Linked DNA regions of Homo sapiens: regions 1, 2, 4, 5, 6 and 7 are each linked to region 3. Evidence: promoter capture Hi-C in 16 types of primary human blood cells and fetal thymus (Javierre and others, 2016). All regions are on one chromosome and are shown on one strand. Each heading gives the region's core, a stretch centred on a gene start or on the middle of the fragment in contact. The rest is flanking DNA. Distances are from core to core; before and after follow the strand shown.

Region 1 (2,700 bases), core at 167-2,666, 360 kb after region 3:
AAAAAAACTTGGTACCCCAGTTCCTTCTGCCAAAAGGAAACAATTAAGCTGAAAGCTGAGTCATGCAAGAAGTTGCCTTTTCTTTTGTCCCTAAGCAGAGAGCTATTAAAAGTTATGGCAAAAACCGCGATTACTTTTGCACCAACTAAAATAATAGCTGATGACCTAAGACATCTCTCTGCACTCACTTTCTGTCTCGGCTGTGCTTTTCACTCTTCCTCCTTCCTCCAAATGTTAGGAAAATGAGTCCAACAAGAAATACATCCATAAAGCAAAGGCATTCTGGTGACTCCTGTACACATCATGACTGTCCACCCAAAGCCTGGCATTGCCTCTAGGAAGTCCTTAAGACACAACTGTCAGTAATGAGAAAATCTAGACAACTTCAGTCAAATCAGCAGACATCATCCTTACCTCTTCTTTAGCCTAACCCTGGATACATACTTTTCCACGATAACAGTCAAGTTTATTTACACTGACTCTCTTGTAAATACCTAAGGTGTTTGTCTCTGTCTTCTACTAGACTGAGTTTCTTAAGGGAAAGGGACTTGTTCTCCTTTTAATCCCTACTGCCTGGCATAGGGCTCAATTCATAGTCACCTCCTGGTAAATTCTTAATGGAATGAACACATTAATGAATGAATTTACAAAAACTTCTTCCAGGTACCCAGGACTAAATAGCCTGTTTGGTTTGTCTGTTTTTTTCTTAATAACATCCAAAGATGCTACCTCTCTCCTTCCTTTATCTTTATGAGGCAGTCTGGTTAGATGGCAAGGAAAAGAAAACGTGGGAAGAAGGTAAGTGAATTACACCAGGATCTGAAAGGAAACAGATAATGCTAGTGATTGTTCTTGTCAGCTTGTAATAGGCAGGATATAAATACACGTTAGAGAGGAGGAAATTCAAAACAGGTACAGGGAAGCAGGTTCAAAGCTTTGAAGACTAGTGTGTTCAGAACCTGCTTACTCAGGCAATTAGACCGTGTCATTGTCTTGAGATAAAATTCTGTGAGCCCGGGAGCCCCACCCCTTCCTGCTCATTTCTTTAGAGAAGAAATTATCTTTCAAGGGGTGAGGTCTGGTTTAAGGATAAGTGCTTTCCCCTTTATCACGAGCCCAAGTTATTGGAGAGGAGTGCTGCCTTTCTTCTTGGTGGCCCCCAATCCCACCTTTTTTGCTAAACCTTAATTTTTGAAACATTAATGAAACATAAAACCCCGGATTATAGCTTTCACTGGACCTACCATGAACTACTTAAATTTATCTTGTTTTTGTTAATGTAGTTGTTTTCATCTAGAAAAAAAAAAACAGTCGATAACACACAGATGGGTATTTTGAGTTCAGGAAAATGACTTCCCTTGTCCGTGGCAACTTGTAACCAAAGGACTCAAAGTCCTTTATCCTGCTATCCTGTGAACTAGAGGGTAGCTACCGTAGACGACAAGATGGAGTGTGCAAATTGTGCTTCCTGGAACTCCAGGGGTTCGGAAGCCATCACTTTGCAAGGGAAACCAACAGCCTGATGCTGATGTCTGGTTAAACTCCACACCAGAAAGACAGGGTGTGCAACGGGAAATGGAGGGGCAAAAATCAAGTGCTTGGCTATCATGCAGCTAGCCAGCTTGACAAAATGCAGAAGGACGCAGAGAGAAATTCTTAAGAGCCCAGCCAGCTCCTGCAGACCTTATGGAGCTGCTCTGCACCTCCGTGCATCCTAGTTGCCTGAGTTCTGTGTTCCAAATGTGGAAAATGCCACTGCCTCCTGTTCCTAAGAACTCCCAGGAAGAACTCTGCAGGCTCAGTCTTTTTTAACTGGCATGCAGAGTGCACATAATGGCTAGTGCATGATGTCATGCACATCCGTGTGAAGAGACCACCAACAGGCTTTGTGTGAGCAATAAAGCTTTTTAATCACCTGGGTGCAGGTGGGCTGAGTCCGAAAAGAGAGTCAGCAAAGGGAGATAGGGATGGGGCAGTTTTATAGGACTGGGGTAAGCAGTGGAAAGTTACAGTTAAAGGTGGTTATCTATTGTCAGCCTATGAGGGGGTCACAAGGTGCATGGTGGGGAGATCATAAGACTCATTGTCCAGAAGAAGAATGTCACAAGGTCGATCGATCGATCAGTTGGGGCAGGGAAGGAACAAGTCATAATGGAATGTCATAAGGTTGTTCAATCTGTTAAGACAAGAGCTGGCTGTTTCACTTCTTTTGCACTTCTGATTGCCTCAGGCCATCTGGATGTATATGTGCAGGCTTGGGCTCAGAGGCCTGACACATGAAGCAAAGCACTTGCTTACATCTGTTTGCGTATTTTATTTGTTTGTTTGTTTGTTTGTTTTTAGAGCTAGGGTCTTGCTCTGTTGCCCAGGCTGCAGTGCAGTGGCATGACTGTAGCTCACTGCAGCCTTGAATTCCAGGGTTCAAGCAATCTCCCCAAGTAGCTACGACTACAGACATATGCCACCACTCCTAATTTTAAAAAATATATTTATATTTTTTAGAGACAGGGTCCTGCTATTTCCCAGGCTGGTCTCGAACTCCAGAACTCGGAGGCCCTAGCCATCCTCTCAAGTTGTTGAGATTACAGGTGTAAGCCACTGCACCTGGCGGTTGTGTATTAGATATTTAGATGTGTGGATACAGTTGTGTATTAGATATTTAGATATCTAAATACGTGGGCTCCAAGTCCCTGATTTATT
Region 2 (2,941 bases), core at 236-2,735, 310 kb after region 3:
GCCTGAGTGGGTCAGGGAGAGCCTGGGAAGATCCTGGGTTTGGATTCCTTTCAAGGTGCAACGGGAAGCTTTGGCGTGTGTTGGGCAGGAGAGTGAAATGTCCTAGGTAGAGTTAAGGTTTTCTCTAGCTGCCCCATGGATTTGCCAGGGCAGGGTCTGTTTCCCTCAGCTGGCTCATCTGAGAAATAAATGTGTGATACTCTCAAATCCTTCTTTGGATTTAGAGAGAGGTATAAGTAAATGCCAAGTCCCATGTTACGGTGTGGTAATACTTGTTTGGTCCACTCATAATGGCATTTATTTTTTAAATCAGATCTACTGGGACTATAATGCTTCAAACCACGGGAGTAAGCCTTGCATGTGACCACTTCAGCTTCCACAGCAGGAAAAGGGAGGGAGATATTTTTAGAAGGGAGACCTCTCAGTGCCCCCTAAACCAGGCCGGAGGCACTGCCTGGCCCCAGAGGACCGTTGGCCTTGCCTATCAGCTTTCATCGTGGAGGAGGCGTGGGTGGACCGAGGTACCACAAGTTGCCAGGAATGCCTGACCAGAAACTGCTCTTGGGTGGGTCCCAGAGCTGCCTCCCCTTCACTTGACCCTAGGGCTGCTGGCTTCCTGGCCTTGTGAAATCTTCTAGAGGCAGGAAGAAGCCTGAGCGCTCCCTGACGCCACTTGAGTTTGACTTCATGGGTTTGCCGTGTGCCCCTGAACAAACCAGTTATCCTCTCTATGCCTTATTTCGGTATGCCCATCTAACACTAATTACCACCCCTCCCTGACTGCCCCCAAACCTTACCAGAAGAAATGGCATGAAGTTACGGAGACACTTTGAACTCATTGGCAAATTGTGCACTGTGAGGGGAAAGCACTGTGGCGGCCATTTTCTTTTCTTCCTTGAGAAAGTCCCTTGCTAATCATTAAGACTGGCTGAGTAAGCTTGTTCCTTTACATTTGGTGAGTAAGAAAGCCCCTCATGCTACCTCATCATATGTTCTTCCTCTTTTTCATGGCTTATCAACACTCCCTTCTGTAGGACATGCTGAGGAATTAGTATGAGTCAAAAGGAAGAATGACAAATAGGTGGTATTTCTGGTCTGGAGTTTGGAGGGCAAGTTCAGTCCAAAAGTTAGCTGCTTCAACCATCATGAAAGGTACAGAAACTCTAGGATGAATACACTTAGTATTTTTTATTATTTATTTATTTATTTTTTAGACGGAGTCTCACTCTGTCTGTCCCCCAGGCTGGAGTGCAGTAGTGCAATCTCGGCTCACTGCAACCCCCACCTCCCGGGTTGAAGCAATTCTCCTGCTTCAGCCTCTCAAGTAGCTGAGATTACAGTACACTTTGTACTTTAATATGCAAACTGCCTGCCTGCTCCAGAGAAGCAGCCTTTGTTCCTCAGTTCATCGCAACACTCAGCCTGTCAGTCAGGTTGTGGGATCCCTCCTATCCAGGAACTGTATGCTGTTGTCCCGGTTCTGACACTTTCCCTCTGAGTCCTTGGACACCTTACCTAACCTCTTGGAAGCTCCTGTCTGTGAAGGGTGTGCACAGAGAGCTTCGGTAGCCTGCGAAGCAGCCATTTTCACTTCCACGGAGCAGGTATTTTATTGCATTATTTCGAGCTCAAGGACTCCAGAATTAGATCCCCAAAATATGCCTGAGAAACATTTACTCCCCAGGAGCTCAAACTAAATAATGAAAACCATTGAAAACAACCAGGCAGCCCATGTCCTGAAGTCACCTTTTCCTGGGAGGTCCAGGAGAGTTTTTCCTACTTTCCCTGAGTTATCCTTCCCTTTCCTTCCCTTCCCTTTCTTCCCCAGAGGGCGATGCATGTTAATCAAGGAGCCTGCATTTGCGCAGGTATAGACAATTACACATTTACTGGGTCAGTTGCACCTGGGGGGGACGCCAATCTGTAAAGCAGAACCAAACCTCTTGCCTTCAGTCCTCAGAAGTTCTTCTGGTTAAAATCATCTAAAAAGTTGTTTCAAGTCTCCAGAACAGCTGAGATCAGCAAAAATAAATGAAGCTTCTTCTGTGTGGGTGCAGATGCTGGCCTGGGTGCTGGAATATGGAAATGAGGAAGATCCTGCCTGAGGATTTCATGACAGGTGAGGGGGAGAGAGGCCTGAGGAAGTTACCACCGGGGAAGGTGACAAGTGCAGTGATAGGATAAATACGAAGTGCAAAGAGAAGACAGACAAGAAGTTCAGCTAGCTAAGAAATGTGTTAATAACACCTTGATCAATCATTCCTCCACTTTTTTTTTCTTTTGAGAGTCTCATTCTGTCACCCCACCCAGAGTGCAGTGGCAGGAACACAACTCATTGCTACTTCAACTTTCTGGGCTCAAGCGATCCTCCTGCCTCAGCCTCCTGTGTAGCTGGGGCCACGTGTATTGCACCACCAAGCCTGGCTTATTTTTTAATTTCTTTTGTAAAGACAGGGTCTCACTATGTTGCCCAGACTGGTTTCAAACTCTTGGACTTAAGCAATCCTCTCATCTTTGCCTCCCAAAGTGCTGCGATTACCGACGTGAGCCACTGTGCCCAGCCTCACTTTAAAAAAAAAAAAAGGTTATGAAGCATCTCAACACAAGACCTCCTTTGCTCATCACAACCACCCAGTGAAGCAGGCAAGACAACAGAAACTCCCCACCTGTGATAGATGTGAGGCCTGAAGTCTCCCACATACCCACGGCAGATGCAACGCACAGCGGTGACCAATGGTAGGGATAACAAGTATTGCTTCCGCCCATTCAGTACTTCTTGCATGCCAGATCTGTGCTAAGTGCTAGATGAACACAGTCTCTTTTCATTCTCATAGCTCTTTAAAACAGGTATTGTTTTCTTTTAAAACAAATTGTTTTGTTAAATATAAATATCATGTACCTTATATATATATTATATATAAAAATACATGTAATTTACCAT
Region 3 (2,791 bases), core at 168-2,667:
CTTTACGGAGTACTTCATGGCTCTTTATTCCATCTCCCTCATCAATTATATCAAAGGTTAGGATGGAAAGGCTAAGACACGGCAATGTCTTATTTGACAACCCCTCCCCAAACCCCTACTCCAGGCTTTCCCACAGCAATTTCAAAACCTTTTTCCTGGCACTTAACATATTCTCCCCTGCATTTGCTTTTGACTGTACAGTACATAGGTCTTAGGTCTCCAGTCTGAAAACTGCACCACTAGATTTTACAGTTCCACAGGACTTAGCACAACGTCTTTGAAAAAAAAAAATACTGCTTAAATAACTCTCAGATCTAAATGTATAATCCTAATCTCTTGATTGCCAGACCACATTCCCAATTGCCCAGATATCTCTACCTGGATGTCCTATAATTATCTCAAACTTAACCTAATCCAAATGGACCTGGGTACCTCTCTTCACCGCCAAACTAGTCATGCTTCCATTTCATATTTAAGTACTTTTCCAAACCCTGAGTCATCTTTGTTCACTCTCTACTACCGGCCATGAACACTCAGCTGCTAAATGCTGCACACATCTCTTCCATTTCTCTCTCTTTTCCATTACCCTAGTTTAAGCTCTTGAAATGCTTCCCTACCTCTCCCTATTTCCCACAAAACCTACATAATAGCTATCAGGATTACCTTGCTAAAGCAGAGGTGTGATCACTGTCATTTCCCACCTTCAGGTAGCTGGAAACCCCACAAAACGAGGATCATGCCCATTTAAATCCCGCAGCATTCTCCCTCTCGTTCTACTGATGCCGACTGGATCATTGTACTTGCCAAGTACAGTTTGTTTTTCTCCCCATTACTTGTGTTTTCTAGTTTCTCCACCAGATGGTGATGACAGTACAACTGGGAGCTTTGTGCCCTGTGTTCCTAGGCCAGTGCCAGGCCCACTTGAGGCGCTCACTAACTATGATATGAACGAATGAATGCTTGAGTGAATTGGTCCCCAGAAGCGGTCAGCCTCTCCGCCAAGGCAGAGGGGAAGGGCCGGGAGGTGCACGTGGGATGAATGGAAACATAGTGATTGGCCTTTTTGGAGTTTTCTTCTTAAAAAACTGAATACATTACAGATGTTGAAAACAGCACAAAAATCATAACTGTACGGCTTGTTAATTTTTACAAATAAATACACCCTCGTGAATCCAGAACCTAGATCAAGAACCAGAGCATTACCAGCACCCAGAAACCTCCCCGCGCCCTCCTCCACTGAGCGGCCCTTTCAACCCTTACAATGCCGGAGGGCGCAATTCCTGGGTCCTGTGACCTTGGTGACCGACGCCCGGGACAAGTCAGAAAGACCCAAGGGCGTGGAAAACGCTCCTCTTACCGATAAACTTGAAGCGACTCATGACTGCGCATGGAGGACCTCCCCAGCGGAAGCGGAAGTGGCCGCCGGCAACTCCGCCCTTCCGGCTGGCCCCGCTCAGTCACCCGCAGCAGGCGTGCAGTTTCCCGGCTCTCCGCGCGGCCGGGGAAGGTCAGCGCCGTAATGGCGTTCTTGGCGTCGGGACCCTACCTGACCCATCAGCAAAAGGTGTTGCGGCTTTATAAGCGGGCGCTACGCCACCTCGAGTCGTGGTGCGTCCAGAGGTAAGGGATGGGGACCCAGGACTCGGGGAGGTGACCCTCGGGGCCCCATGGAGGTGGAGAGGCCCCTGGGTACCTGGAGGTTCAAGGACTTCGGGAACGGAATTGGAAGGTGGCCTCTCGCTTCACAGAATCCTATGGTAGACCCGGGTTCAAATCCAGGCTTCGCCACTTATGGCCGGGAGACCTTGTAGAGTTGCTTGTCGGGTCTGGGCGTCAGCTTTTTGTTTAGTAAAACGGACGCACGACCAGCGCAGAGGGTCGCAGGAAAATTAAGTGAAATAAAGGAAAGTGCCTAAAATTGTAATTGTCATGGGTCCAGCGCTCGCTCAATCGTTTTCTTCACGATCTTCTCCTTTCCAATATTAACAGCAATAAACTATGCATTATTTTCTTCAGTCTGCAAAACTCTAGGAGTTAGGAATTATCTTAAGCTTATTTTACAGATAAGAAGATGAGCACAGCTGGTAACTTGCGCAAGGTGATAGAGTTTCTAAGTGTCTGAGCCAGGGTTAAAATTTAGGTCTTTCTCCAAAGCATCATCATTCTCCCACCCCTCCCATTAGCTTTTCTCTTTTTAGCTTCATCTAGTCCTTTTCATTACCTTTACATCTTTTTCACCTCTTACATAATTCTCTTTCGACCTCTATCCGTCTGAGACTAGTCTGAGAACATAGTGTTAAAATGTGTAGATTTTAATCACCTAAATTCATTGCAGGGTGGGCTAACAACCCAAGATGTGTGAGTGCCTCGCCTCCACTCCAGTCTTACGACTCTCCAAACGTAGTTTTATAAGAAGGCCTTCTGGGAAAAAAACTCTATGGAAAATGGAGTAGGCCTGGAAGAATTACAGAGGGTACCCTCGAAGCCCAGATTGCATATATGTGACTATTAGAAAATCACTGACATACTTCTCTTGATTTGGCAGGAAGATGGCCAAGTACAATGTGATGGGATTGTTAGTTTCTTCCTTGAGTTTTCCTTATTTATTTATTGATTTGACAGAATTTGCAATTCAGATTCTATGCTCTATGCTAAATATATAAATGTTAGTAAATCCATTTTTGAGCAGCAGCAGCTCACGGATTAGTGGGGAAAATGGACATGTAAACAAATCGATGATGAAGGAAGTTGAGCCATCAGGGATTCAGGTATCCCAACACAAATGGTAAAT
Region 4 (2,847 bases), core at 27-2,526, 470 kb after region 3:
CCTAAAGGCATTGTATAGTAAAGCCCTTTGGAACTGGCTTTTCATTTAGCACAATGTTTTTGAGGTTCATTCATGTTGTAGCATGTTTCAGTTCTTCATTTGTTTTTATGGCCAAATAATCTTCCATTGTGTGGCTATATTACATTTTGTTTAGCCATTCATCAATTGATAGATATTTGGGTTGTTTCTACTTTTTGGTTATTACAAGCAATGCTGCTATGAACATCTGTGTGCGAGTTTTTGTGTGGACATATATTTTCATTTTTCTTGGTTATATACCCAAGAGTGATATTGCTGGATTACATAGTAGTTCACGTTTAACTTTTTGAGGAGCTGCTAGACTTGTTTTCCAAAATAGCTGTCCCAGTTACATTCCTTTCAGCAGTGTGTGAGTTCTAATTTCTCCACATCCTTGTCAGTGAACACTTGTATTATCTTTGTGTGCATAGCCATCCTAGTAGTGTGAACTAGGCCTTTTATCATTGTGCTGATTTGCATTTCTCTCATAGATAATGATGTTGAACATCTTTTCATATGCATATAGGCCATTTGTTGTTTGGAGAAATGTATATTTAGACTTTGCATATTTTTTTAATTGGGCAGATTTAAAATTTATGTATTGTTGAGTTTCAAGAGTCCTTTATATATTTTAGGTACAAGTCCCTTATTAGATATGTGATTTGCAAAATTTTTCTCATTCTGTGGGTTTTCTTTCCATTCTTCTTAATGGTTTCCATTGAAGTACACATGGTTTAAATTTTCATGTTTATTTTTTCTTTCGTTGCTTGTGCTTTTGATGTCATATTTAGGAAGGCTTTGTCCAATCTAAGTTCAAAAAGATTTACTCCTATGTTTTCTTTTTCTTTTTTTTTTTTTGAGATGGAGTTTCGCTCTTGTCGCCTAGGCTGGAGTGCGATGGTGCGATCTCGGCTCATTGCAACCTCGGCCTCCCAGGTTCAAGCAATTCTCCTGCCTCAGCCTCCCGAGTAGCTGGGATTATAGGTGCTCGCCACCGTGCCCAGCTAATTTTTGTATTTTTAGTAGAGACGGGGTTTCGCCATGTTGGCCAGGCTGGTCTCAAACTCCTGACCTCAGGTGATCCACCCACCTCAGCCTCCCAAAGTCCTGGGATTACAGGCATGAGCCACCATGCCTGGCCTGTTACTCCTATATTTTCTTCTAAGAGTTTTATAGTTTTACCTCTTAAATTTAGCTCTTTGATCCATTTTGAGTTAAATTTTGTGTCTGTTGAGAGGAAGGGGTCCAGCTTGATTTGTTTGTGTGTGGATATTCAGTTGTCCCAGTATCATTTGTTGAAAAGACTGTTTGTTCCCCAGTGAATTTTCTTGCCCTTGTGGTCAAAATTCCCTTGACTGAAAGGTAAGGGTTTCTTTCAACAATATTTTGTAGTTTTCAGAGTATAAGTTTTGCATTTCTTTTGTTAAATTTATTCCTAAGTATTTTACCTTTTTTGATACTTTTGTAAATGGAATTTTCTTAAAGAGGCAGTGGCATGATTAGACTTTTATTTCAGGAATATACTCTGACATTTTTGTGGAGGATGGTTTGGAGGAAAGTCTAGTAAAACATACACTAAGATTAATTATTCTGTCAATGATGATAAAAGGCCAGAACTAGGGTTGTAAAATGAAAGGTAATGAATAAATTTGGGTAATATCTAGGATGTAGAATGTAAAAAACGTGATGATTTGGATATTATAATGAGAGTGAAATCTCTTGATGTAAATTCCAGGTTTCTGGCTTAGATAGTTTTGCCAGCCATTTGCTGACATAGGAACAGGAAAAGGAGTTAATTGGGTTTTCTTTCTTTTTTCTTAGTTTGTCTTAAAGGTTTGCTGATTTTATCTTTTCAAAGAACCAACTTTTCATTTTGTTATCTTTTGTATTTTTTTCATTTCATTTATTTTGGCTCTGATCTTTATTATTTTCTACTAATTTGGGGTTTGGTTTGCTCTTGCTTTTCTGGTTGAGATGCACTGTTAGGTTGTTTATTTGATGTTTTCCTGCTTTTTTGATGTAGGCACTTACTGCTAAAAACTTTCCCTTTAAGTATTGCTTTTGCTGTGTCTCACAGGTTTTATATATTGTCTTTGCATTTTTATTTCTATCAAGAAATTTTTATATTTACTTCTTAATTTCTTCATTGACCCACTGGTCATTCAAGAGCATGTGGTTTAATTTCCATGTGTTTGTATACACAGTCTCCAAAGTTCCTCATAGTACTGATTTCTAGTTTTATTCCACTGTGGTCAGAGAAGATACTTGATATGATTTCAATTGTTTTTTGAATTTTTTAAGCCTTGTTTTGTGGCCTACCCATGATCTATCCTTGTGAATGATCGATTTGCTGAGGAGAAGAATGTGTATTCTGCAGTTGTTGGATGAAATGTTCTGTGAATATTTGTTAGGTCTGTTTGGCCTGTAGTCCAGATTAAGTCTGATGTTTGTTGTTTATCTGTCTGGATGATCTATTCAGTGCTGAAGGTGGGGTGTTGAAGTCTCCAGCCATGATTGTATTGGGGTCTGTCTCCTTAGCTCTAATAATATTTCCTTTATATATCTGAGTGCTCCGGTATTGGGTGCATATGTAATTGTTACATCCTCTTGCTGAATTGACCCCTTTATCATTATCTAATGACCTTCTTTGCCTCTTTTTATAGTTTTTGTCTTGAAATCTATTTTACTGATGTAAATATCACTATGCTCTTTTTTGGTTTCCATTTGCATGGAATATCTTTTTCCATCCCTTCATTTTCAGTCTCTTTGTGGCTTTATAGGTGAAGTGTGTTTATTTTAGGCAGCAGATCGTTGGTTCTTTTTTTAAAT
Region 5 (2,948 bases), core at 373-2,872, 500 kb after region 3:
GTGTTTTTAGTAGAGACGGGTTTCACTATGTTGACCAGGCTGGTCTCAAACTCCTGACCTCAGGTGATCCTCTCGTCTCAGCCTCCCAAAATGCTGGGATTACAGGCATGGGCCACTGTGCCTGGCCTGGCAGAGATTTCTTAGACAAGACAAAAAAGAATAATTATAAAGGAAAAAAATGGATAAACTGGACACCATCAACAGTAAAAACTTCTGCTCATTAAAGTTACCAGTAAAAAAATACATAGATAAGTCACAATATTCTCAAAACATATCTAATAAGGAACTTGTATCCATAATATATACATAACTACTACAACTCTGTAATAAAAAAAAAATTTAAAAACGAGCATAAGACTAGAACAGGCACTTCGCAGAGAAGGATATAAGGAATGGCCAATAAGCACATGAAAAAGTGCTCAAAATCATTAATCATCAGGGAGGCAAATTAAAGCTGCAACAAGATACCATAGATACCCATCAGGATGGCTAAAATGGGCTGGGTTCAGTGGCTTATGCCTGTAATCTTGGCACTTTGGGAGGCCAAGGTGGGTGGAACACTTGAGGTCAGGAGTTCGAGACCAGCCTGGCCAACATGGTGAAACCTGTCTCTACTAACAATACAAAAATTACCCGAGCATGGTGATGCATGCTTGTAGCCTGTAATTCCAGCTACTCAGGTGGCCGAGGCAGAACTGCTTGAACCCAGGAGGTGGAGGTTGCAGTGGGCCGAGATTACGCTACTGCACTTCAGCCTGGGTGACAGAGTGAGACTCTGTTTCAGAAAAAAAAAAAGAATGGCTAAAATGAAAATGACTGACGCCACCAAATAATGGCGAGGATGTGGACTACACATATACTCACTCTTGGTGAGAGTGTAACTGGCACAACCACTTTGGACAAAGGGTTGGCAGTTTCTTATCAAGTTAACTGGTTAGACAGACCCTCAGGTCCCATATTTGACTTCTTGTGAAGACCGGAAAATCTTCCCCAAACCAGAGAAGCCTAAACAAGTGATCCTGAATAACCTAACCTAGGCCTTGGCAATTCAGAACATGGAGGAAGAATCCTAACAGGACTCAGTATGGAGAAATAATCCTTTCCAGGTGGAAAGCAAGAGTGATGTTAACAACAAACACTTCTACAACTAGCACTACACCACGAAGCTTCTTTCTTCAAACACAGACCAAGCCAGGTATGCATTTCATAGGCCAATGCTGAGAACGGTGTTTACAAGGTTAAATAAATGTTTTTCGGATATACAGTTTCAAGGCTCTCTTTACAGTTTCAATAATCAAGACATTATTGGCATAAGAAAAGACAAACACATCAATGGAACAGAATAGTCTAGAGATAGTCTCACCCTTATATGAGCAACTGAATACCCACAAAGATACCAAACAATTGTTCCTTCCTCAGTCCTACTGTAATTTAGTTCCTGCATTAACACATCAGTCTTATTGATGAGAAGAATTATAGTCAGTTATAAACACCACATTTCTAGGATACATAAAGATTTTGTTGTGTTATGTTTTAAGATCTGGGAATTCCAGGGAGAGTGATACTTTCCATAAGCAGCTTTACAATCAAGGTGCCAGGCCCTAATCATATACACAATGAAAAAAAAATTAGAATGAGAAGTCAACAAAAAGTTATTCTTTAATGAAAAGAAGGTTCTTTCTGCACTGACAGTTCATTATCAAGAATCATATATTCCTATTGAATAATAACATAGAACAGAGAGAGAACATGAATCTCTGAATCTTCAGATGAACCTTTACATTACACTTGGGATGGCCCTTTAAATTGATTTTGACCAATATATAGAAAGGGACTCAGCACCTGTTGGGCACTCAGTTTGCGGTGACTTGGCCAAAGTCACATAGGTGATAAGTGGTGAAGCCAGATTCCAAACACACATTGGTTCCCTCCCTCCTACAGCAAGTATTGTTTGAGGAGATCATGCTCTGCCTTCTGTGACAATCACAGGCATTGTCATGGAAGCAGTGTCTAGAATCAATGATTACTTTTGAATGAGAGAATAAAAACATTAAAGAGATTCCACATTTTCACCCTAAAAAAGCTTATGAAATAGGAAAGTACTGTAAGGAAGAAATATATTTAGGAATCTCTAGTTAAGAAACAATGATTACATTTGTAGAAATGCTCTTATAATGCTTTTAAAGTAAACTAAAGTCTATAGTGGATTTTTAAAAATGTCATTTAGCTGGATACAAAGTTTGAAGGCAGAGGAAACACTTTGTTATCTATTATGTAACTACAAAAATATTCTGACGAATGACAAAAATAAATTAGGGTTATATTCCTGGAGAGAACAGACATATTGAAAGGCTTTGGTGTCTCTTGTTTGTACAGAATATTCTGACATACAATCATACATAAAGTATTAAATGTTCATGTATAAATATTAGTCTTATCTCCTTAACTATATTGTTACTTTTCCCATCATGGTTCCAGATACACAGCTGGCACATGCATCCTGTTGAAAGAACAGAACATCAACCAAAAAAAGTTTCTTTCACACCACAATTAGCTGCCTAAACATTAAAGAAGAGAATCAAAACAAAGGTCCCTCACATTCTACAAGCTGGACAATGAACCCTTACTGAGGTAGACCATACTTTGTTGATTTTAAATCCACTGTCTAGGGCTGGGCACAATGGCTCACGCCTGTAATCTCAGCCCTTTAGTTGCCGAGGCAGGTGGATCGCTTGAGCCTAGGAGTTTGAAACCAGTCTCGGCAACATGGCAAAACCCTGTTGCTACAAAAAATACAAAAAAATTAGCTGGGCATGGCGGTGTGCACCTATAGTCCCAGCTACTCAGGAGGCTGAGGTGGAAGGATTCTTGAGCACGAGAGGTCAAGGCCATAGTGAGCTGAGATTGTGCCACTGTACTCCCATCTGAGTGACTGAGTGAGACCTTGT
Region 6 (2,901 bases), core at 242-2,741, 410 kb after region 3:
TTCTTTGGAGAAATGACTGATTCTAGTGTTTGGACTAAAAAGTACAAGATGAATCTAAAAGATATTTTTGTGCCAGAAAGCAAGGAAGCTCTCAAAGACTATGGAGTCATATCAAAAGGACCCAGAAGCTAACTTGTAGATAACTCAAATAGCCAGTTGGAGACAATTTGACCATCAAAATAATTAATATAAGGGATTATAATCCTTGTGGTAGGCAGAATAATGGCCTACAAAGTTGTCTATGCCTGCATCAGTGGAATCTATGAACATGGAATCTTGCATGGGAAAAGGGAATTTGCAGATTTGATTAGAGACCCCAAAATAGAAAGATTATCTTGGATTATGTAATAGCTAAAATTGAGTGTCAACTTGATTGGATTGAAGGATGCAAAGTATTGTTCCTGGGTGTATCTGTAAAGGTGTTGCCAAAGGAGGTTAACATTTAAGTCAGTGGACTGGGAGAGGCAGACCTACCCTCAATATGGATGGGCACGATCTAAGCAGATGCCCCCATGGCTAGGATAAAGCAGGCAGAAGAGCCTGGAAGGACTAGACTGGCTGGGTCTTCCAGCCTTCCTGTTTCTCCCTTGCTGGATGCTTCCTGCCCTCGAACATTAGACTCCAAGTTCTTCAGCTTTTGGACTCTTGGGCTTACACCAGTGGTTTGCCAGGGCCTCTCAGGCCTTCTGCCACAGACTGAAGGCTGCACTGTTGGCTTCCCTACTTTTGAGGTTTTGAGACTCAAACTGACTTCCTTGCTTGCTACTCAGCTTGCAGACAGCCTATTGTGGGACTTCAACTTGGCATTGTGTGAGTCAATACTCCTAATAAACTCCCTTTTATATATACATCTATCCTTTTAGTCCTGTTCCTCCAGAGAACACTGACTAATACAGATTATCTAGACAGGCCCAGTGTAATCACATGAGTCCTTAAAAATAGAAATCCTTCCTGACTACAGAGAACCAGAGAGATGGAAGCATGAGAAGGACTCAACCTGTGTTGTTGGCTTCCAAATGGAGGAAGGGATCCAGGAGACAAGGAATGTGAGTGGCCTCTAGAAGACAGAAAAGGCAATAAAATGGATTCACCCTTAGAGCCTCCAGGAAGCAATGCCACCCTGTCAACACCTTGATTTTTAGCCCAGTGAGTCCTGTGTCAGACTCCTGACATAAAGAACTGTTAGATAATGCATTTATGTTGTTTTAAGCCACTAAAATGTGATTTGTCTCAGCAGCAATAGAAAACTACCGTAATCCCTTTGAATAAAATAGGAAGGTGTACGTCCATAAAGATAGAAATAAATGAATAAATTGAAAGTTTGATGAGGAACAGGATATCTATTTCAAAATAACTCTGCACAAAACACTTATTAATTACAAAGGGTTAAAGAGCAATTTGGAAGTTATTCCTAGTTCTCTGCTAGGAGGAGCCTAGTGGATACCACCCTAATCAAGTGATCTAACTGAATATCAACAGCAGTGAGACAGATGTAAATTATGCCTCAGCCAATAGTATCAGTGAGAAGAATACAACACTTCTGTGGTATTTCTACCCAAGATACATAACTTAAGGAAACATCAGAGACATTGTAAGAAACTCAGATTGAGGGACATTCTATGTAATAACTGGTCAGCTATCATCAAAGTTGCCAAGGTCATTTAAGTTAAGGGAAGACAAAGGAACTTTTCCAAGCTAAAGAACACCAAAAAGACTTGACAATTAAATGCAATGTGTGGTTTTGAACTGGATTACTTTGTTGGAATCACTGGCAAAACTTGAATGGGTTCTGAGGATTAGACTGCAGTTAGTATCAATGTTAATTTCCTGATTTTAATGGTTATATTTTGGTTATGTAGAAAAATTTTTGAAAAGTCATACTAACAAAAGATAAATAATTATGGTAGCTTGTCTCCAAGATGGCTGACCAGCATAAATTTCTTCTCCCTATATCCACACAAGCCAGGGTTGCAGTTTATTCCTTTGTTCCCTTGAATGTGGCCTGATTTGTGACTGCTTTGGTCAACAGAATACTACTAAAGTCATGCCGTGTGACTTCTGAAGCTAGCTCCTAAGAAGTCCTTGCAGCTTCTGCCTGCGACTCTTAGAACACTTGCTTTGAAGGATGCCAGATGCTGTCTTAAAAGTCTGAGCACTCTGAAACCATCATGCTGTGAGGAAGCCCAAGCTAACCACATGGGCAAAAAAGATGCCCTCTGACTGCCACCATTTGAGACACTCTAATTAAGAACTGCCTCATTGAGCCCATGAGGCCCTGTGAATGATAATAATAAATTGTTTTTAACCACTATGTTTTTGGATTTGTTATAAGTTTATAGATAACAAGAAAAAGTTATATTAGCATGGTAATAAAATTATGGATATGTGTAAGTTTGGTGTTTTGTTTCTTTTTTTTTTTTACACTAAGCCTATATTACTGTTGTAATTTAGGAAATCACTTGTTTTCCTCCAGCACTTCAATGTAAGAGTGGCACTACTTAGAATGTACTTCTTAAGATATGGCTGTACATAGAACAAATTATTCACCATGATTTCCTTAGCATCCAACAGAATACCTGAGTGTAGTAGATGCTTAGTAAATAGTTGTTGAATAATTGACATATGGGAGAGTGCTGGATAAACTCTTTGAGAATGACATTATCTACTTCGATTTATGTGAGTCTGGCATCATATTTTTTTTGCTGTCTTTAAAGAAACCAAGAAGAAAGGCTGTGTGTTGAAGTTATGATTTATTGCTTTTCTCCCCTATACATTTATTTCTTCACATGATCATCTCCTCTGCTTTCTTCTGTGACTAACTTGCTCTATCTGTGTGAACATTTTGCCACTATTCTGCTCCCTTTATACCTGCCTAGGCAAAGATTGCACAAAAAATAAAAT
Region 7 (2,849 bases), core at 128-2,627, 380 kb after region 3:
AACTTAAATAATTGCAGAAGTACTTTTCCTCAAGACAACCATTTTATTTTGGTATGCAGCAGAAATACTTCGTGTGGACTTCCCATTTATTAAGAAATCAGTGTGAAACTGGCTATTACCTCTCCTGTGAGTGATTGAGGGGATGAAGAATCAGTGCCACTGCCTCAATTCATGCTAAGGCAGTTTTTTTTACCTGTCTTTGCTTTGGCATCATACGTGAAAATGGAGAATTTTTGCTTATGGAGAAAAGGCAAATAATGTTTTTGCATTATTGGGGAAATAGCTTTGACCTTGAGGACCCTCTGAAAAGGTCTTAGGCATCCCTAGGGGCCCATGGATCATCCTTTGAGAACCACTGACCTCATGAAATAACTGGTGGCGGAATTCAAGATTCAGCTGGTAGAGAAGAACAGTCATTCCTCTCCATATCAGGAGATTTGTGTTCAGTCCCATCCCTTCTCTGGCCTTAGTTGTATCTTCTGTAAAAGGGGATAATAATATGTCCTCCCTACAGAGCTGTTATGAGAAGTCAGTCATGACAATGTAGTGAAAACATGTGATTGCGGATAAAGCTCTGAGGGAATCAAAGAACTAGACAATTTATTCAGGGTCTGTGAGTATTGTGGGGGAGGAAGAAACCTAAGCCTCCCATCATATTGCCAAGATGACCATCTGCTCTGCCCATGTAACTCAAGCTAGAAGAGGAAGGAGCTGCTACCCATGGTGCCCCCTCCAGGGACCAGCAGTAACCTTGAAGCCTCCTCCGTCTCCCATTCCTTTGCCCTTAGTGACTCCTCAGTTCTGCCCAGATACCCTACATTGCTTTAGTCAATTTACTCTTCTCCTTTCCAAGACAAACACAGGAGAAAATCTAGCTCCAGGGCTAGGCAAAGCATTCCTACACTTGACATGAAAAGCACAATCCATAAAAGGTGAAATTAATCAATTAGACCTCATCAAAATTAAAAGCTTTTGCTCAGCAGAGGCCCTGTTAAGATGAAAAGGCAAGCTAGTCACAGACTGGGAGAAAATATTCGCAAGTCACACATCTTACTAAGAACTTGTGTCTAGAATATATAAAAAATTCTCAAAAGTGAACAGTGAAAAACTGTTTAGAAAATAAAACATAGAAAATGAGCAAAAGAGCGCCAGGTGAGTGCTGCGGACTGAGCCGCCACAGTCCGGCATGAGGGCTTGGGGTCTGGCTACTGCCTGCTTCTAGCTGTAGTGCCATGAATGCCTGCAGAGCTTGCCCTGCCTCCTGACCCATGCAATGGGACTTCCCTGGCCTTGGATCTGACCTGTGTGGGCCCGCCGGCTCTGCGTAGCAGGTGCAATGCATGGGTTTAGAACTTCTGATGTCTCTCAAGCCACTGTAGGCAGTGTAGCCCCAGTATTTACCGCAACAAAATTTGACAAACAGGGAAATGTTACTCCTTTTGAAAGGAAGAAAACTGACTTATACCAAGAGTTAGGTCTTCAAGCCAGAGACTTGAGATTTCAGCATGTAGTGAGCATCACAACCAGAAACGGCAGGTTTATCATGACAATGGAGTATTTGAAAGCTGTGATAACTCCAGAGTGTCTCCTGATATTAGATGATGGTAATTTAAATTTAGAGCAATGGCTGTTCTGGGAACTCCCTTCACAGTTGTCTGGAGAGGGTCAACCTGTTACATACTCTTTACCTTTTGAGTTTAGTGCTATGGAAGCACCCCTGAAATACTGGATCAACCCCCTTTAGAGGAAACGTAGCGTTTTGCAGACACTGACCTTTGAGACCTTAGAAGCTTTCAAACATTCTTCTGTGGACAAAAGCTAACCGCATATTTTACTACGGAATGACAAAAGTCTATCAGAGTTAGAAACAGATATTAAAATTTTCCAAGAGTCAATTTTGGAGATCTTGGGTGAGGAAAAGTTACTAGAAGAGCTCTGTCTATCAAAATGGAGTGACCCACCAGTCTTTGAAAAGAGCAGTACTGGGATTCGCCATGCAGAATGTAAGGTTAGCTGAGAGAAAAGACGAGAGAGAGACCCAAGGTCAGGCAAGGATGTTTATTAACCTGCCAGGCTGCTCCACTACAGTCAGAGGAGGCAGCCCTGAGCTTACAAAATGAGGGGTTTATATTGGGGAAAGAGACCCTGGGGTTGTTTTTCGGTTAACTTTACCACATAGCATCTCGTGACCGGCTTACAATATATTATCTTGTGAAAATAGGAATTTACAAGAGGGTGTTACTTAGGTTTATCCACGTTTCTCGTGACCTCCCCCGTGCCAGCCGGAGGGCTGTAAGCAAGTCTGGTGACCTTGCTGGAGCACCTAGATAAGGGTTCAGGAATGCAGCTGCAGAGTATTCAGCGTAGGGGTCAGCTGCACTGAGAGGCAGGGGCAGGTCCTGGGGTAGCTTGTCCCTAACACAGAAGAGATGGACCTGCTGTTGGAAAACTACTACCTATTGGCTGACGATCTCTTCAATACAGTTTGGGAGCTTAGGGTACTGACTGATGATTCACGAAGTATCATTTTCATCAATCTGGACAGCCACCGTAATGTGATGATGAGGTTGAATCTACTGCTGACCATGGGAATCTTCTCTCTTTCACTCTTTGGACTAATGGGAATTGCTTTTGGAATGATTTTGGAATCCTCCTTGAAGAGGACCCTAGAGTGTTTTGGCTGATTACAGGAATTATGTTCATGGGAAGTAGCCTCATCTGGAGGCGCCTGCTTTCATTCCTTGGACGACAGCCGGAAGCTCCGTTGCCTCCTATGATGGCCTCTTTACTGAAAAAGATCCTTCTGGCAGATAGAAGCATGGAATTGAAAAACAGCCTCAGACTAGATG

What was found. Contacts are between HindIII fragments. The CHiCAGO score rates a contact against its expected background, and 5 or more counts as called.
Region 1: a contact is called between a fragment that was not itself captured here and the fragment with the promoter of TATDN1 in region 3, in 1 of 17 cell types (total B cells). The highest score is 6.3, in total B cells.
Region 2: a contact is called between a fragment that was not itself captured here and the fragment with the promoter of TATDN1 in region 3, in 1 of 17 cell types (M1 macrophages). The highest score is 5.9, in M1 macrophages.
Region 4: a contact is called between a fragment that was not itself captured here and the fragment with the promoter of TATDN1 in region 3, in 9 of 17 cell types (megakaryocytes, erythroblasts, total B cells and 6 more). The highest score is 10.1, in megakaryocytes.
Region 5: a contact is called between a fragment that was not itself captured here and the fragment with the promoter of TATDN1 in region 3, in 13 of 17 cell types (erythroblasts, naive B cells, total B cells and 10 more). The highest score is 11.8, in erythroblasts.
Region 6: a contact is called between a fragment that was not itself captured here and the fragment with the promoter of TATDN1 in region 3, in 5 of 17 cell types (naive CD4 T cells, total B cells, total CD8 T cells and 2 more). The highest score is 7.0, in naive CD4 T cells.
Region 7: a contact is called between a fragment that was not itself captured here and the fragment with the promoter of TATDN1 in region 3, in 6 of 17 cell types (endothelial precursors, naive B cells, total B cells and 3 more). The highest score is 8.1, in endothelial precursors.

What each region holds. Positions count from the first base shown.
Region 1 is chr8:124,895,521-124,898,220 of GRCh38, forward strand. No RefSeq gene overlaps it. Among named protein-coding and RNA genes, the nearest start is that of LINC00964, 45 kb to the right of the region's middle. The HindIII fragment of the contact is 969 bases long and covers 933-1,901 here.
Region 2 is chr8:124,847,218-124,850,158 of GRCh38, forward strand. All of the region lies in intron 1 of LOC105375743 (a long non-coding RNA gene), which reads right to left. Among named protein-coding and RNA genes, the nearest start is that of MIR4662B, 27 kb to the left of the region's middle. RefSeq lists enhancers at 546-1,745, 890-1,184 and a silencer at 890-1,184. The HindIII fragment of the contact is 1,100 bases long and covers 936-2,035 here.
Region 3 is chr8:124,537,668-124,540,458 of GRCh38, forward strand. It overlaps TATDN1 (TatD DNase domain containing 1), which reads right to left and starts at 1,418. Exons shown (of 12, transcript NM_032026.4): 1 at 1,358-1,418. The coding sequence starts at 1,379. NDUFB9 (NADH:ubiquinone oxidoreductase subunit B9) reads left to right here and starts at 1,456. Exons shown (of 4, transcript NM_005005.3): 1 at 1,456-1,620. The coding sequence starts at 1,520. RefSeq lists an enhancer at 1,279-1,348. The HindIII fragment of the contact is 3,000 bases long and covers 1-2,049 here.
Region 4 is chr8:125,012,494-125,015,340 of GRCh38, forward strand. All of the region lies in intron 7 of SQLE (squalene epoxidase), which reads left to right. Among named protein-coding and RNA genes, the nearest start is that of SQLE, 15 kb to the left of the region's middle. The HindIII fragment of the contact is 3,605 bases long and covers 1-2,847 here.
Region 5 is chr8:125,033,721-125,036,668 of GRCh38, forward strand. All of the region lies in intron 26 of WASHC5 (WASH complex subunit 5), which reads right to left. Among named protein-coding and RNA genes, the nearest start is that of WASHC5-AS1, 5.5 kb to the right of the region's middle. The HindIII fragment of the contact is 917 bases long and covers 1,165-2,081 here.
Region 6 is chr8:124,948,787-124,951,687 of GRCh38, forward strand. It overlaps LINC00964 (long intergenic non-protein coding RNA 964), which reads left to right. Exons shown (of 4, transcript NR_027321.1): 4 at 2,030-2,309. Among named protein-coding and RNA genes, the nearest start is that of LINC00964, 8.2 kb to the left of the region's middle. The HindIII fragment of the contact is 6,113 bases long and covers 1-2,901 here.
Region 7 is chr8:124,919,196-124,922,044 of GRCh38, forward strand. It overlaps the pseudogene MRS2P1. Among named protein-coding and RNA genes, the nearest start is that of LINC00964, 21 kb to the right of the region's middle. The HindIII fragment of the contact is 821 bases long and covers 968-1,788 here.